3 separate regions of the Homo sapiens genome follow, and all the other regions are linked to region 1. The links are contacts of gene promoters, found by promoter capture Hi-C in blood cells and fetal thymus (Javierre and others, 2016). All regions are on one chromosome and are shown on one strand. Each heading gives the region's core, a stretch centred on a gene start or on the middle of the fragment in contact. The rest is flanking DNA. Distances are from core to core; before and after follow the strand shown.

What was found. Contacts are between HindIII fragments. The CHiCAGO score rates a contact against its expected background, and 5 or more counts as called.
Region 2: a fragment that was not itself captured here is called in contact with the fragment with the promoter of CCDC174 in region 1 in 1 of 17 cell types (monocytes); the score reaches 5.2 in monocytes.
Region 3: a contact is called between the fragment with the promoter of RAB5A here and the fragment with the promoter of CCDC174 in region 1, in 1 of 17 cell types (fetal thymus). The highest score is 6.2, in fetal thymus.

The regions. Positions count from the first base shown.
Region 1 is chr3:14,649,876-14,654,285 of GRCh38, reverse strand. It overlaps CCDC174 (coiled-coil domain containing 174), which reads right to left and starts at 2,524. Exons shown (of 11, transcript NM_016474.5): 1 at 2,408-2,524. The coding sequence starts at 2,449. LOC124909347 (a long non-coding RNA gene) reads left to right here and starts at 2,165. Exons shown (of 2, transcript XR_007095826.1): 1 at 2,165-2,617; 2 at 3,060-4,410. RefSeq lists enhancers at 2,212-2,281, 2,422-2,821, 2,325-2,983. The HindIII fragment of the contact is 1,793 bases long and covers 960-2,752 here.
Region 2 is chr3:9,398,718-9,403,090 of GRCh38, reverse strand. The region is part of intron 1 of SETD5 (SET domain containing 5); the gene reads right to left. Among named protein-coding and RNA genes, the nearest start is that of SETD5, 3.3 kb to the right of the region's middle. RefSeq lists an enhancer at 1-238. The HindIII fragment of the contact is 571 bases long and covers 2,557-3,127 here.
Region 3 is chr3:19,944,499-19,948,795 of GRCh38, reverse strand. It overlaps RAB5A (RAB5A, member RAS oncogene family), which reads right to left and starts at 1,699. Exons shown (of 6, transcript NM_004162.5): 1 at 1,275-1,699. It also overlaps a transcript of EFHB not described here. RefSeq lists enhancers at 415-1,014, 1,061-1,110, 1,631-1,680, 1,542-1,711, 1,637-1,806 and 1 more. The HindIII fragment of the contact is 3,439 bases long and covers 1,312-4,297 here.

The DNA of each region.
Region 1 (4,410 bases), core at 1,275-3,774:
TAAATGTTTAAATGTAGAATCCAGTACACAAATTAAGCTAAGTCATGTTTCATTCTACCTCTGCTGCAAATGCATTTTTACTCTGACTTTCAACACTCGAGGCTTTCCTTAGGCAAGGAGAAAGTGATAAAGCAAAATAAATTAATAAAGTCTGCATCTTTTAGTTTCAGATTAAACTTGCATTATTAAGCACCTTCTCTCTGACTAGCACTGCACTCATTTCATCATCACAACTTATTTCTACAGTGAAATGCTGTAGAAATAACGCTGAAGAGCAGAACATAAACATGAATTAGACATACTCTCTGCCTCAAAGAGCCTACAATGTAACAAGGAAAGTAATTTATACTACCAACAAAATAAAACAAATGACTCTAGAGTGGAAGAAAGTAGCACATAAGTTCAGATAACAGAGCATTTCCTTCTGAGCAGAGTGATCAGAGAAAGCTTAGAGCAGAGCCTTTAAAGACACATTATTTCAACAGCTAGAAATAAAATAGACTGGGTGAATTATAACAGCTCCACGTTTGACTTAATCCATTTCAAAAACCGTAAGCTTGGCTGAATCACACGGTTCAAGAACAGGAAAGAAGGCCAAGGCATAGGGAGTGGGGCAGTTGGGTGAATATTAGTACCTTTCCCTCAGCTACATTAATTACCCCTGCCTACTCTGCAAAAAAGGATATAACAACAGTTTCCTTTTTAATGGTCCAGGTACAGCTGCTTATATGGATGGGCATTTGTAAATCAGATACTTCATCACTGTCTTAATCATCAGATACTTAAAAAAATCACTTTATTTGTTAAGGAAGATAAAAATGGCTGGGTTCAATTTCCGTTTTGGAAGAAATCGATTTAAAAGGTAACCATTTAATAATGCAAAGGGCAGTTTCACTGCAGACCCTAATACTGGAAATTTTTAAAAACAAATGAAAAACTTCTACTTTTTCTTCTAAGCTTACTTAACCACACCAAATTTTCCAGCCACATATCTTCCTAGTCTACAACTGCCTTTAACTTTAAGAGATGCTCAAAAAAATGTAAATTCTCAAATAGCATTCTTATTACAATTACTGCTAACCTGTCAGTATAGGTTGGCTTTAATATTTATAGCTTTCTGGTTCCTGATCTTCAAACAAAATAATAACTGGTACCAATTTTAACCAATAATAGTTACCAATAATAACTAGTACTCAAATATTGGGACACCTATATGTTTTCCTTCCTACTCACTTTGTGTCCTAATACTCTGAAGTAAATTCAAGATTAAATCAAAGGTTGGGCAATTTGCTCTGATGATGAAAAGGCAGCAGCTTTGGAGTCAAGTAGAGTGAGTGAGAAAGGGTCTATCACTAAGATTTCTTCCCCCCGCCCCCCGCCCCTTAGACGGAGTTTCGCTCTTGTTGCCCAGGTTGGAGTGCAATTGCGCGATCTCGGCTCACCGCAACCTCCGCCTCCCCGGTTCAAGCGATTCTCCTGCCTCAGCTTCCCGAGTAGCTGGGATTACAGGCGTGCACCACCACGCCCGGCTAATTTTTTTATTTTTAGTAGAGACGGGGTTTCTCCATGTTGGTCAGACTGGTCTCAAACTCCCGACCTCAGGTGATCTGCCCGCCTCAGCCTCCCAAAGTGTTGGGATTACAGGCGTGAGTCACCGCGCCCGGCTATCACTAAGATTTCTGTCTGTAAGCTGGGGAAAGCTACTTCATCTTTCCAGGCCTCAATTTCATCATCCATAAAACGGAGATATTAATAGCACCTACCTCCTAAAGCCATTGGGAGGATTCAATGAGATAGTGCATATAAAGTGCTGGCACAAAATGTGTACTTAGAACAAGTTTTCTTTCTAGAGTAGCTGATGTAATAAATCTGCTTACATCCTTTCAGACCTCACAACTCCCTATGCCTGCATTAACAACTGTTTAGTTCCAGGGAGGGCACGCTGGACACTTTCGGGTCCTGCGAAATATGTCACACTCTAAAGTTCTGGGAGGACTTTGTGGGTCCCTGGATGGAGGAGAAACCAGGAAGAGGATATGTCTGCATAGCAAAAAGAAGCTAGGGTTCCTCCTGACTGTAAGGGAGAAGGCTGACGAGGTGCAGGTCCTTGTGGGCAGGGCAGAGGTGAGGCACGGAGTTTCCTAACCCACGGGACACCAGGTTCAGATCCGTGTCCGAGGGTTCTGGCCCGGGCGCATGTCAGAGGAGAGTAGCCCAATTCAGGGTCCTGTAAGAAAACTGAACCGGATCCCCGCCGGAGAAGAAAATCCAGTTCGGGGGTTCCTGTTTGAGGGGAGAGGTCAGGTCTCTGGGTCCCCGAGTGAAGAAACAAGCTAGGTCGACATTCTTGTCTGATGGAGACACGGTGAACCCGGAGCCCGTGGAGTTACCTCATACCCTCACTCACCGAGGAGGCCGTGACGTCCAAAGGCTTTTTCCTACGGTCCATGGTCGTGGCAGAGGGTCCCGGTCCAGGAAGGACCCTTTCTACCCGACACAGGCCTCGTAAGCCTACCTCCGTCGCAACCGGAAGTGTCTTCGACAGCGACACTGAGTTTGCGTGAGTTTGCGACGCGAGTTTGTCAGCTCAGCGCCATCTTGAGAAGGTCAGAGTGTGGTGCGTATTACGTTCACCATCATTTTGGAAAGGTCATAGAGTGCGGAGGTTGACGCTAACTGCTAAGGTCATCTTGAGGGCGGAAGGTAACAAGGATTGGTGTGGGCGCCATCTTGAGAAGGGCGGAATAAAGCTTTTGATTGCGATGGACGCCATATTGGGTGGGGCGGATGTGGGGTTGGCGACAAAGATAACGCCATCTTGGGGAAGGCTGACGCTTAAGTAAGTGAACTCGAGCGTCTCGGGAAAGGTGGATTGGGAGGACCGGAAGAATCTTAACTGCAATTCCAGGACCTGCTGCCTGGCACTTTTCACACGTTAAATAGTTGGTTCTTAAAAGAGCGTACGAGATAAGGATTATTATATTAATCTTAGTAGAAATAACAAGAATAATAGCTAACATTAATGTAGTGCTTATTATGGGCCACTTTACATATTTCAGCTCTTAAGAACGTGAACTCCTGGGCCGGGCGCGGTGGCTCACGCCTGTAATCCCAGCACTTTGGGAGGCTGAGGCGGGTGGATCAGGAGGTCAGGAGTTTGAGACCAGCCTGACCAACATGGTGAAACCCCGTCTCTGCTGAAAATACAAGAAAAAAAAAAAATTAGCCGAGCGTGGTGGTGCGCGCCTGTATTCCCAGCTACTCAGGAGGCTGAGGCAGAAGAATCGCTTGAACCTGGGAGGTGGAGGTTGCAGTGAGTCGAGATCAAAAAAAAAAAAAACAAAGAACACGTGAACTCGAAAGCTGACTTTCTGGGTTGGAATCGCTCTTCACGGCTTACTGCTTGTGTGACCTTGGGCAAGTTACTTAACTTCCGTGTGCCTCAGTTTCCAAAGGGGGATATAATTTTATTTACCTAATGGGTCTTAGTGAGGATTAGATGAGTTAAATGAGCTAGTCTTGATAAAAATGTTAATGATTATGGTAGACAGACCAATCACCCTCACCCCGACTCCCAGATGTCTACCTTCTAATCCCCAGAATCTGGGTATATGGTGACCTTTATATAGCAAAAGAGAATTGGCAGAGATGATGAAATTAAAGCGATTGAGATGGGGAGCTAGCCTGGATTGTGCAGGTGGGTCCCCTATCATCAAAACCATCCTTATAAGGGGTAGACAGGATGGCCAGAGTCAGACAGAGATCAGAGATGCTTTGAAGAGGGAGAGTGGGACCACATGCCTAGGTATGCAGGAGGCCGCTAGAAAAAGCAAAGAAATGAGCCCTCCTCCAGAGTCTCCAGAAGGAATGCAGCATTGCTGACACGGTGATTTTAGTCTTGTAACACTCATCTCAAACTTCTGACTTCCAGAACTCTACCAGAATACGTTTGTGTTGTTTTAAGCCACCAAACTTGTGGCAATTTGTTACAGCAGCAAGACGAAAGTGATCATAATGATTGTAACAGTGGCATTTAGTATATGTGGGGCATGTGTATGACTCTTTGCATAGATTATATTATATAATCCTTGCAAGAATCCTAGAAGCGGACCTATTATCCACCATATTAGAGAGAAGAAAAATGAGACTCATCACATCCTCATCTCATCTGTCTTTATGGAGAAAATGGGAAAAGGGAAAAGGAGAGGGGAATTGAGGCAGTTGACTGTGTTCAGTCTTATTTATTTATTTTCATTTGTTTATTTCTCCAAGTCCGCCAGTCTCTGAAATTAGAACAGTAAGCAATATGAGATAATCGGGCCTAATAATGTTGTGATTCTCTTTTCTTAATGGAGTGGAATGTTCTGTCCCCACAAGAAGGATTATACCTTATAGACTTGTCTTGTTCAG
Region 2 (4,373 bases), core at 1,593-4,092, 5.3 Mb after region 1:
TTGCCTTTCCTACCTCCTGCCCCTCCCCCACCAACATTGCCTCCCTGCTGTGCAAAGAGCCCTTTGTCCTGCCCCGCACTTATCTAGCTGTTTGGCCATATTGACAGGCCTACTGGAGGCATAATAAGGGAGTCAGTCTGACATAAGCAGCTGGCAATTTGAAACAAAAATCTTCCTTTTCTACTTAGACCAAATCCTGCTGCAGAGGTCTCTGGCTCCTCCCATGCTTCCATCTATTTCTCAAACAGAGCAGCAAGAAATTCAGCATTTTCCCCTCCATTAGGTAGCACAAATCAAAAACTTGATTCCCCAGACAGAAATCTATTTTGTATACATTCCTATAGCTACCGCTTTTTGTGATTCATAACATAGGCCAAAAGTATACATGTAACTAACATGGCTAAGGCAATGCTTCTCATTACTTCATACTGCCATGAAAGCTGTGGGAATCCTTATACCACAACGAACCCATAAGAACACAGAAGAGAAAGCAGCAGCCCAACCAAAGCAACAGACATGAGCATCAGGCAAAACTGGCCTGATGTAAAAACTTAAGTGTTTTAAAAATACTAAGACATTACTCCAAGAAGCAGAAAATTCCTTTCCCTGTCTTCATATCAAACATACTTAATGTGACCTTACATTAAGTAAGGTATTCCCTCAGGTACTCAGCAAACAAAATCAATATGATGGTATAAACGAATGAGGCACGATGCGATTACAAATTCCTTGCTCAGTGAGGGCACATATAAAGCAGACTGAGCTTACCTTCATTGTTTATTTTATCCCATAGTTCCCTTCGCTAAGTATTAAAGACAGAATGCATTTTGTCCCAGGGTAGGGGAATTCTCTCCAATGTAATGCTTTCTAACAGCACCTCCCCCCAAAGTTACTGGGTATCTTTTACGCAATTCATAATTAAAGATACAATAAAACAGTTTTCCTAAGACTTATTTAACAAAATGTATATAGACAAGTGAAGGAAACTATATTCTCTCCACCTTTCATGAACTTCCCAGAATCCCACCCACAAGATAAATCAATCATTTTGCCACATATTTTGGAATTTTTGGCAGTAAGGAATGGTACCAATCCCTGCCCATCACGGGTACACTACATTACTTTCTAAAGAGTGCCTTTGAAAGAATACTTTAAATTACAAATGACTACCAGTTATATCACTAAATATACGATGCACATTTTGCAAAGTTTGATGCCTCAAACAAAATATACTGGTCAAGAAGTTTCAGTTTTCAACACTTGAAATACAATTTTTATAAATAAAATTCACTGCTAGACCTTCTGACTTCAAATTAAACTGATGAATCACCAGAGTTCAGCCAAAAATTATTTTTAAAATTTTATTTTATTCATGATCCAGTTCCCCTCTGATAAAATGTATCCAATAGTCATTGACTGCTGTTAACTATGGCCTAATTTTTCATAAGTTATTTCAACATGGAGAGGATAAAGCAAAAGTAATTATCTGCAAATCTGTACTTTGCACTTTATTATTTCCCCATTCAAAGGTAAAAATGAAATAGTCATTCTCCCCAGAAAAGCCAGAATAATTTCAGAAAGTCAGTTCCTGGACACAAAACAGTATCAAAAGATATAAAAAAGTTTTCAAGGGTATAACTTAAGTAAATCCTTCTATGAAAAGGGCCTGTATGATCCTCTAAAAAATGATAATATCAAGAGCACAAAAGGTTCCAAACAACAGGAAATTCGAGTGTAAAAGCAATTATTTTATATAGCAACTTAAGCCACAGAGTAAAAAACTACAAACATTTTTATCTTAAACCCTAAGTATGTCAAACAGCCAGTATACATGAAATCATATTTATCTGCTATTGCATCTTATCTATGTGATAGTAATAAGAATTGGAACCTCCTAAAATAGTATCCATTAAAGGTTCTGTTTCATTGGTCTGCTTTTATTACTGGGAAAACAATGTGAGCCACATTTGTGAATGACAAAACTCATTTCCATTCTTTTTGGTTCTCTGCCACAAATGCCAGAGTGATACTACAAATTATAGATGTTTGTGAGATTTAAGTACATTTACACGAAAATGAACAAATCAAAATTCTGAGAGAAAAAAGTATAGGATACACGAGTCTTGGGGAAGAAAAACAGCACACAGGAATATGTCCAGTATTGCATATAATTGGTGGTGGTGGTTCTCCTTCAAGTTTTTCCACGCTCAGACTGTTTTGCTTAATCAGAGATCATCCTAATGTTCAGGAGTTGTGGGGGAGGGGAGATCACCTAAGGGGCTCAGAGGCCATCTTCTCAGTATCCTGAACTAGACTTATTCGATTTCTGCATATTTCTTCTGGTCTGTCCTACATTTCAGATGGATTATGGCCAAAGACATATATTTGTGATGTCAGAAGGCTATATCCAACATGTATATAATGAATCAATCTTATAAGTCAAACTCCAAAGAAAATATCTAATCTGGAGAAGTTTATTACTAATATACAAATTAAAAATATTTATTTAGAAACCACTCCAAAATGGCACCTTTTTAGAGTTTAAGAGTTCAAGCTTAGTAAAATGTTTAGCAAATCGTCTATAAGGTAAATGTGGTCTAATCGAAAGGATGGAGACACATAACAAAATAATAAGAATTGATTCTATGATTAAAGAGATGGAGGAAGGCATGATATGTGAGCTGCAGGAAAAAATTCCTGTTATTTTCTTCCTATTGTGGTTATCAGAAAGATTCTTAAAATTATTACTTGGGTTTTTAAACTGATTGAAAAATTAAAACTCTAATGGAACTTTTAGTCCTATCCAAGCACAAATGTCTAGATAAAAAACAAAAATCTGCCAAAAAACAAAAATCAAATCAAACAAACAAAAAAAGAAAGGCTTTAACCATGATCCAGTTTCCAGATGCCAATATCCATAAATGGGTAGGAGATTATGAATTACTAATTCCCATCTCCCCACCAATAAAAAGCAAACCAGCTCAGCAGTGAAAATTCCCAGAAAAGCAAGGTTTCTTCTTAGTCCTGAAGCAGCCATCGCCTAAGTGCTGCTCCCTGCAGCCAGCAGCATTAATGGACGCTGCACTGCTGTCCTTCCCTGGAGACAGCAGCCAGCACTACTCAAGCTTCTCACGTAGCAACCAGAGCTCCAGAGCCAGCAGCTGCTGCTGCCTTGTATACTCACCCCTGTGATCCAACCCAAAGGAACAACCTTCTCTTTACCCCACCCCCACTCCTTACACACACTTTTTTTTTTTTTTTTTGGACCAGTGCTCCATGCCAGAAGGGCTGGAATTATGCTTTTAAGAAAGAAACAATCCTAAGGTCACCCTTTTAAACCAAGGCCTTTTATTAGAAAAATCAACATTTACCAAATTCTAAATATCCATTTTAATTAAGCCAGCAGTTTAGGAGTGAAGATTAAGCTTTGGTCTTTTGAAAGCCAATTTCCCAAGCACTCTACAATCTAATTTAAATTTGCAGCTAGAAACAGAGCCTTGTGTCATGTCCTACCAAAGGGCATAATTCATTTTTCTACACATAATGACAGTCTGAGTAAACCTTAAAGACTCTAATCCCATAACAGGCCAGAATTTTTGGCTACAGAAGAGAACTAATGATCCTGAGAAAACTGGAAGAAATCCAATAGAAAAAAAAAAGCCCTACGTCCTCTATGGAGCCCAGAAACCTCTGATTACGTGGGTATTCTCTGCTTTAGTCCTAGCTCAGATCCCACACATCTAAAATTACCACTTAGAACTTTCTGTGACCTAAAAACATTAATAATATAAAATTAACAACCAAAAAATAATTTCAAATAGGGAGTACACACTCTCCTAAAAAGCTCAGCACACTCCACTCAGCTGGATCCTCCCCAATCACAAGTATAGCTATGTAACATCTGTCCAACAAAGAAATGTAAATATGACCTTGGTCACAAATATGTCATCTAAAAACTTGTTTAGTCAACTGATGAAGGTAATTAGCACAGAACTTGGGGATTCGTTCAGTACCTATGTGCAGGAAGGAAACTGGAGAAATGAACTTAAATATAGACAAAGCCCAGTGGAACCCAGAGGTCTGGGAAAGAAATGAGTTACCGGTGAATACATTGCACAAGTAACATGAGAAAGCAGAAAATGCAGGTCATACACGCACCCCTGACCCAGACCAGCAGAGCTGACTGCAGCATCCATATCCAAGAGAAAGACCACTGACGCCCAAGAAGTGAGACAAGCAAGGACTCTATAGAATCAATTAGCATAGAAGGGGCTTTCCCAACAGTTTAACTTTCCCTCTCATGCGATTTACCTACTTGAACCAGGGCTCTTTCCTACACTCCTCTTCACATTCCCGACTTACACGCAGAGGGA
Region 3 (4,297 bases), core at 450-2,949, 5.3 Mb before region 1:
GGCACTTCCAAAATTTTAGGGAAAATATCAGACTCCCATTAAAAAAAAAAATCAAACAAGATTCTGATTTCACTTTGACTTTTAAGGTTTAAAGCTACTTAATTGTGGCTACTCCCCCTAAGGATCTCAAACAGGAAATAACTAAAGTTAATGGTAAATATACACTTAGCATAACACTAAGGTTAAAAATTACGTGCATTCATTTGTATTCACTGCTTACTGAAACTTCTGTTTTGCAAAACAAGAATTTTGCATAATATACATTTGTAATCTTTTGAAAATAACTGTTATTCATTCTATAGTTAAAATCCTTCTAAGGGTTCTTTGATCAAAAAATTGACTGGGCACTTATTTTGTGCCAGGCACTGTTCCATTTACTTTGTTTATACAAATGCTGAGTTATCACTTCCATTTTACTTTAGGAATAAAGTTTATGAGCAGTCTTGAGTATTCCCAGAGGTGTACAAGTGTTTTTTTCTTATTATGTGAAAGGCAACTGATTGAACGCTTTGATTCCATTTAAGCAAGACAAAAACCAAGTATGTGAACTATGACGTTCAGAACTTAACAAGTTTGAAAGTCTCAGAGGTAAGCAGCTTCCAGGGAAGATAACGCCAGAGCAAGTTCCATGGTCTCTACCCAGTGAAGGAGTTCAGCGGTCCTGTTATCTTGAATTTATTTAACGCTGTAGTTCACTACCTTCCAAACAGAAAACAAGTCTCTAGACAGCCTATTTTGACGAGCCTCCCACCCACCGACACTACTCATCTTTGGAAGTTGAAGATAGGCGGAGCTCCCCACATTGACACCTGCAGTAGGCCCAGGTTCCTGCTTGGAGAGCACCTGAGTAGCTAATAGCCAACTACAGATCGCCTGGATAAGCAGCACTCGCCAGGTCCCTTGGCCTTTCCAACCTCCTCCCCCGAACCTGCCTTGCTTTGACCGAGACCCCCAGGACTGCCAGGACGGAGACCAGGCGGAACCGCGGCCTCCAGTACACTTTCCACGGCGCCATCTTGAGAAGGGAAAGGGTGACACCCGTCGCTCCCTCAGTCAGTCCCCAAATCCCGGTCTCCAGAGCCCCTGGAGGATGAGTCACCAGGGCTGGCAGAACAAGACGCCGGGTTCGATAGTTCTCTGGTCCAGGGCACTGCTGCGCGTGAGGGAGAAGGGGTGGGGGGTCTCAGTACCGGCAGGGCCGCGGACAGGCTGGGGACCGCGGATAACCTGGGGTCCAGGCCCCCGCTGCGCAGGAGGAGGGGCGGTTCGGTTACCTGAGACCGCAGCAAGCCGAGCTGCGGGGCCGAAGCTTCCTGGCAGCAAGGCCCAGGCGTGGCCCGTAGGATGAGAGTGTATCTATGGCGGTGGTGGTGGCGGCGGCGGCGTCGCCTGCTCTTAGCGCCGCTCCCCTCACACTGGACTGTGCGGGGCTCGTGCCGTGGTGCCGCCCCTGTCGGGCTCCGTCTCCGCCTCTCGCCGCTCCCCCTTCCTCTTTCCTTTCTCCTCCTCCGCCGCCGCCGCCGCCGCCGGCGCTGGAGTTCCGACTAATTCTTCCTCCTCCTCCTCCCTCTGCCTCCTCCCCTAAGGCCAGCCGCCGGCTCCTTCACGAACCAAAACACAAACACTCAAGTCCCACCGCCGGAGCCACTTCCGCTGCCCGGTGCCGGCCCCGCCGCCACGTCGCTGCACGCAGCGAACTGCGCCACTTCGTCACTTCCCATCATCGCCAGTCCGCCTGCTCCTTCCGCTTCCTCGCCCCTTCCCGAATCCCTCCCCGCCTAGGTTTGTTCGCGGGGCGGGGCGAGGCAGGATGTCACGTGACCCTGCGAGTGGCTCAGATCCGAACTGGCCGCCTTTCTCCCCTTCCCCCACCCCAGGTACGCGCGGCCACGCCCTCTCCAGCGCCATTGTTATTTAGGCTGGGGGGTCTCTGGGCTCCTGGCGGCCGGGGTCGGGGGAAATTCCTTTACTATTCTTTGGGGGAAGATCAAAATAACTTGTGTTTTTTTGTTTGTTTTTTGTGCCCAGCCCTTGTGGGAGCGGCGAGGTTCCCTAACCCCAATCCTGGCATCTCGGCTAAGGGGCTTTATTAGAGGGAACTTGTCTAGCACGAGAGAACCTCCTCCCACAAAATGGCCCTGGGGTTGGGTAGGTCGGTAAAGGCTGCTAAATCGCATTTACCCCAAGGAGGAAGAAAGGACCCTCCCTATCCCAAAAGCCGCCTTTAGGCGCCTGACAATAAGAAGTCGCTTCTGTTAAGAGTTTACGTGGTTTTGGTAGGGGGCGGGGAAGGCCAAATCCTAAAATAGTGTCTGCCTTTTATTCAGAATTTCCCTTCGCTCTTTACTGTACTAAACGCTTTACAGGAATTATCCCATTGAATTCTTACACTCGAGTCTTTCATTCTGAAACTAACTTGTTAATCGTCTGTTCCCTACATTCGAATTTTAGCTCCCCTTGGTGGTCCTCACCGCTGTAAATCTATGTCTAGCCCAGTGCCTGGCAGCCAAGTCTTCAGTTCTAGTTGTAGATGTTTTATAGGTAAAGAATTTGAGACACAAGAGATTGAGTAACTTGTCCGAGATCACGGCTGTGTGGTGCAGAAGCTGGATTCTGATCTGCGGCGGGTTGGCTCCAGAACGTGAGTTGTTGAACACAATTCTGGTGAAAGACAACCCAAGATGTTCGTTACCCTCCACGGGGGACCTACTGAAGATGTGCTGCTTTAGTTGAATCCCACACCACATTCAGTCTCTGGCGAGGCTTCAGCCACCACCCCCTCCCCAGCCTCCGCCAAAAAAATTGTTTTGATAATTTAGTGGAAGAATATTAAATTGATTTTCCTTCAGAATAAAGGCTACTTTTCAGTTTGCAGTTTACAATGTATAGCTCTGTTGTAAGGGCGAGAATATTGTCTTTGAAGTGTACCGGGTTAAGGTATCTTATGGGCGTACAGTCGGCGGCATTGTGCAATTAAGATGATTTGAACTTTGAACAGCCCGTCTTTCAGATCAACTACCTAGTTGCCAGAAGAACGTAATGTGTCATACGTAAATGATACCTGTGGCATTTTATTCTCAAGGAGTTGTTCAATATGAACTATTAATCATGGTAATAGCTCTGGGACAATCCCAGGAGGAGTCAGGAAATAGGATATGTGACATCAGTTTTGTCATGTCAACAGTATGCCCAAAACGAAACCTATTCCACTCCAAACCTGCTTCTGCTTAGAGACTGGCATTAACATCCTCCCAGTCACCCAGACTTGGAACTGCAGAATCAGCTTCACCTCTTTCTTCTCCTCACAAACCATTGTCCATTCTATCAACAAATTATCTAATCCCCAAATTTGAAGTCTAATCCCAACACCTGGTCCATGGTAGTGTTTATATAAACTGAAATTAATGCATACTGCTGTTCTTTCTGTCCATTCTTTACATTTTAGCCACTCTACTAAAAAATGTTCAATGCTATGTCATTACTTGACAGTCTAAAGTTCTTTAACTCTAGTCCCAACCCAAGTTTCTTTCATTCTATTTCTATAGAATTCCTCTCCCCATACTCTTTATTTGTTCCCTGATCACACGTATCTGGTCTGTGTTCCCTGAATATTGCCTGTGTGTTGCCATCTTGGTATCTGATCACTTTATTTTCTCCACATGGAACACTATCATTGCCCATAACTGCTGGCTCCGTCTTAGCCAGGACACCAGTTCCTTTGGACCGCATCTGCAGATACTTCTACTGGATTCAATTATTATTTTTTCTGTAATTTCACAATACTTTGCCTTACTCTGTATAATGGCTGTCTTAAAATCTGCCTTATTTTAATAGCTAATGAGCACCTGGACTTTTCTCCTTAGCCTTTCATTGAATTATAAGGTTTTTAAGGGCTGTGACCATCAGTTATTCATCATTTCAGTTCTTCACAGAAGACCCTTGACTGCTATAATAGGGACCCCCAAAGTATTGGTGAACTTAATTACATTTAGAATCACGAACATTAAGAAGACCTCACAATGAAAAACATTTGATGCTGAAATTTATAAATTGCAAAAAACTCCCTATTTCATCGTTCCAGTATGTTGCTTCTTCACTCGTTCCTGTTTAGTGATTTTGTCTTCACCTCCTTCATGAATACTTTTCACAATATTTTACAGTTTAGTCATAATGTTTGCCTGGAAGAGTGCTGCCCTGGTGGCTGGCATTTCTAAAGATCCGGTAGTAGTTTTAGAGAAATTGAAATGACACAGTAAAGCTCTGTTGTTTTATTGCCACTTGCAATATGCCTATGTTT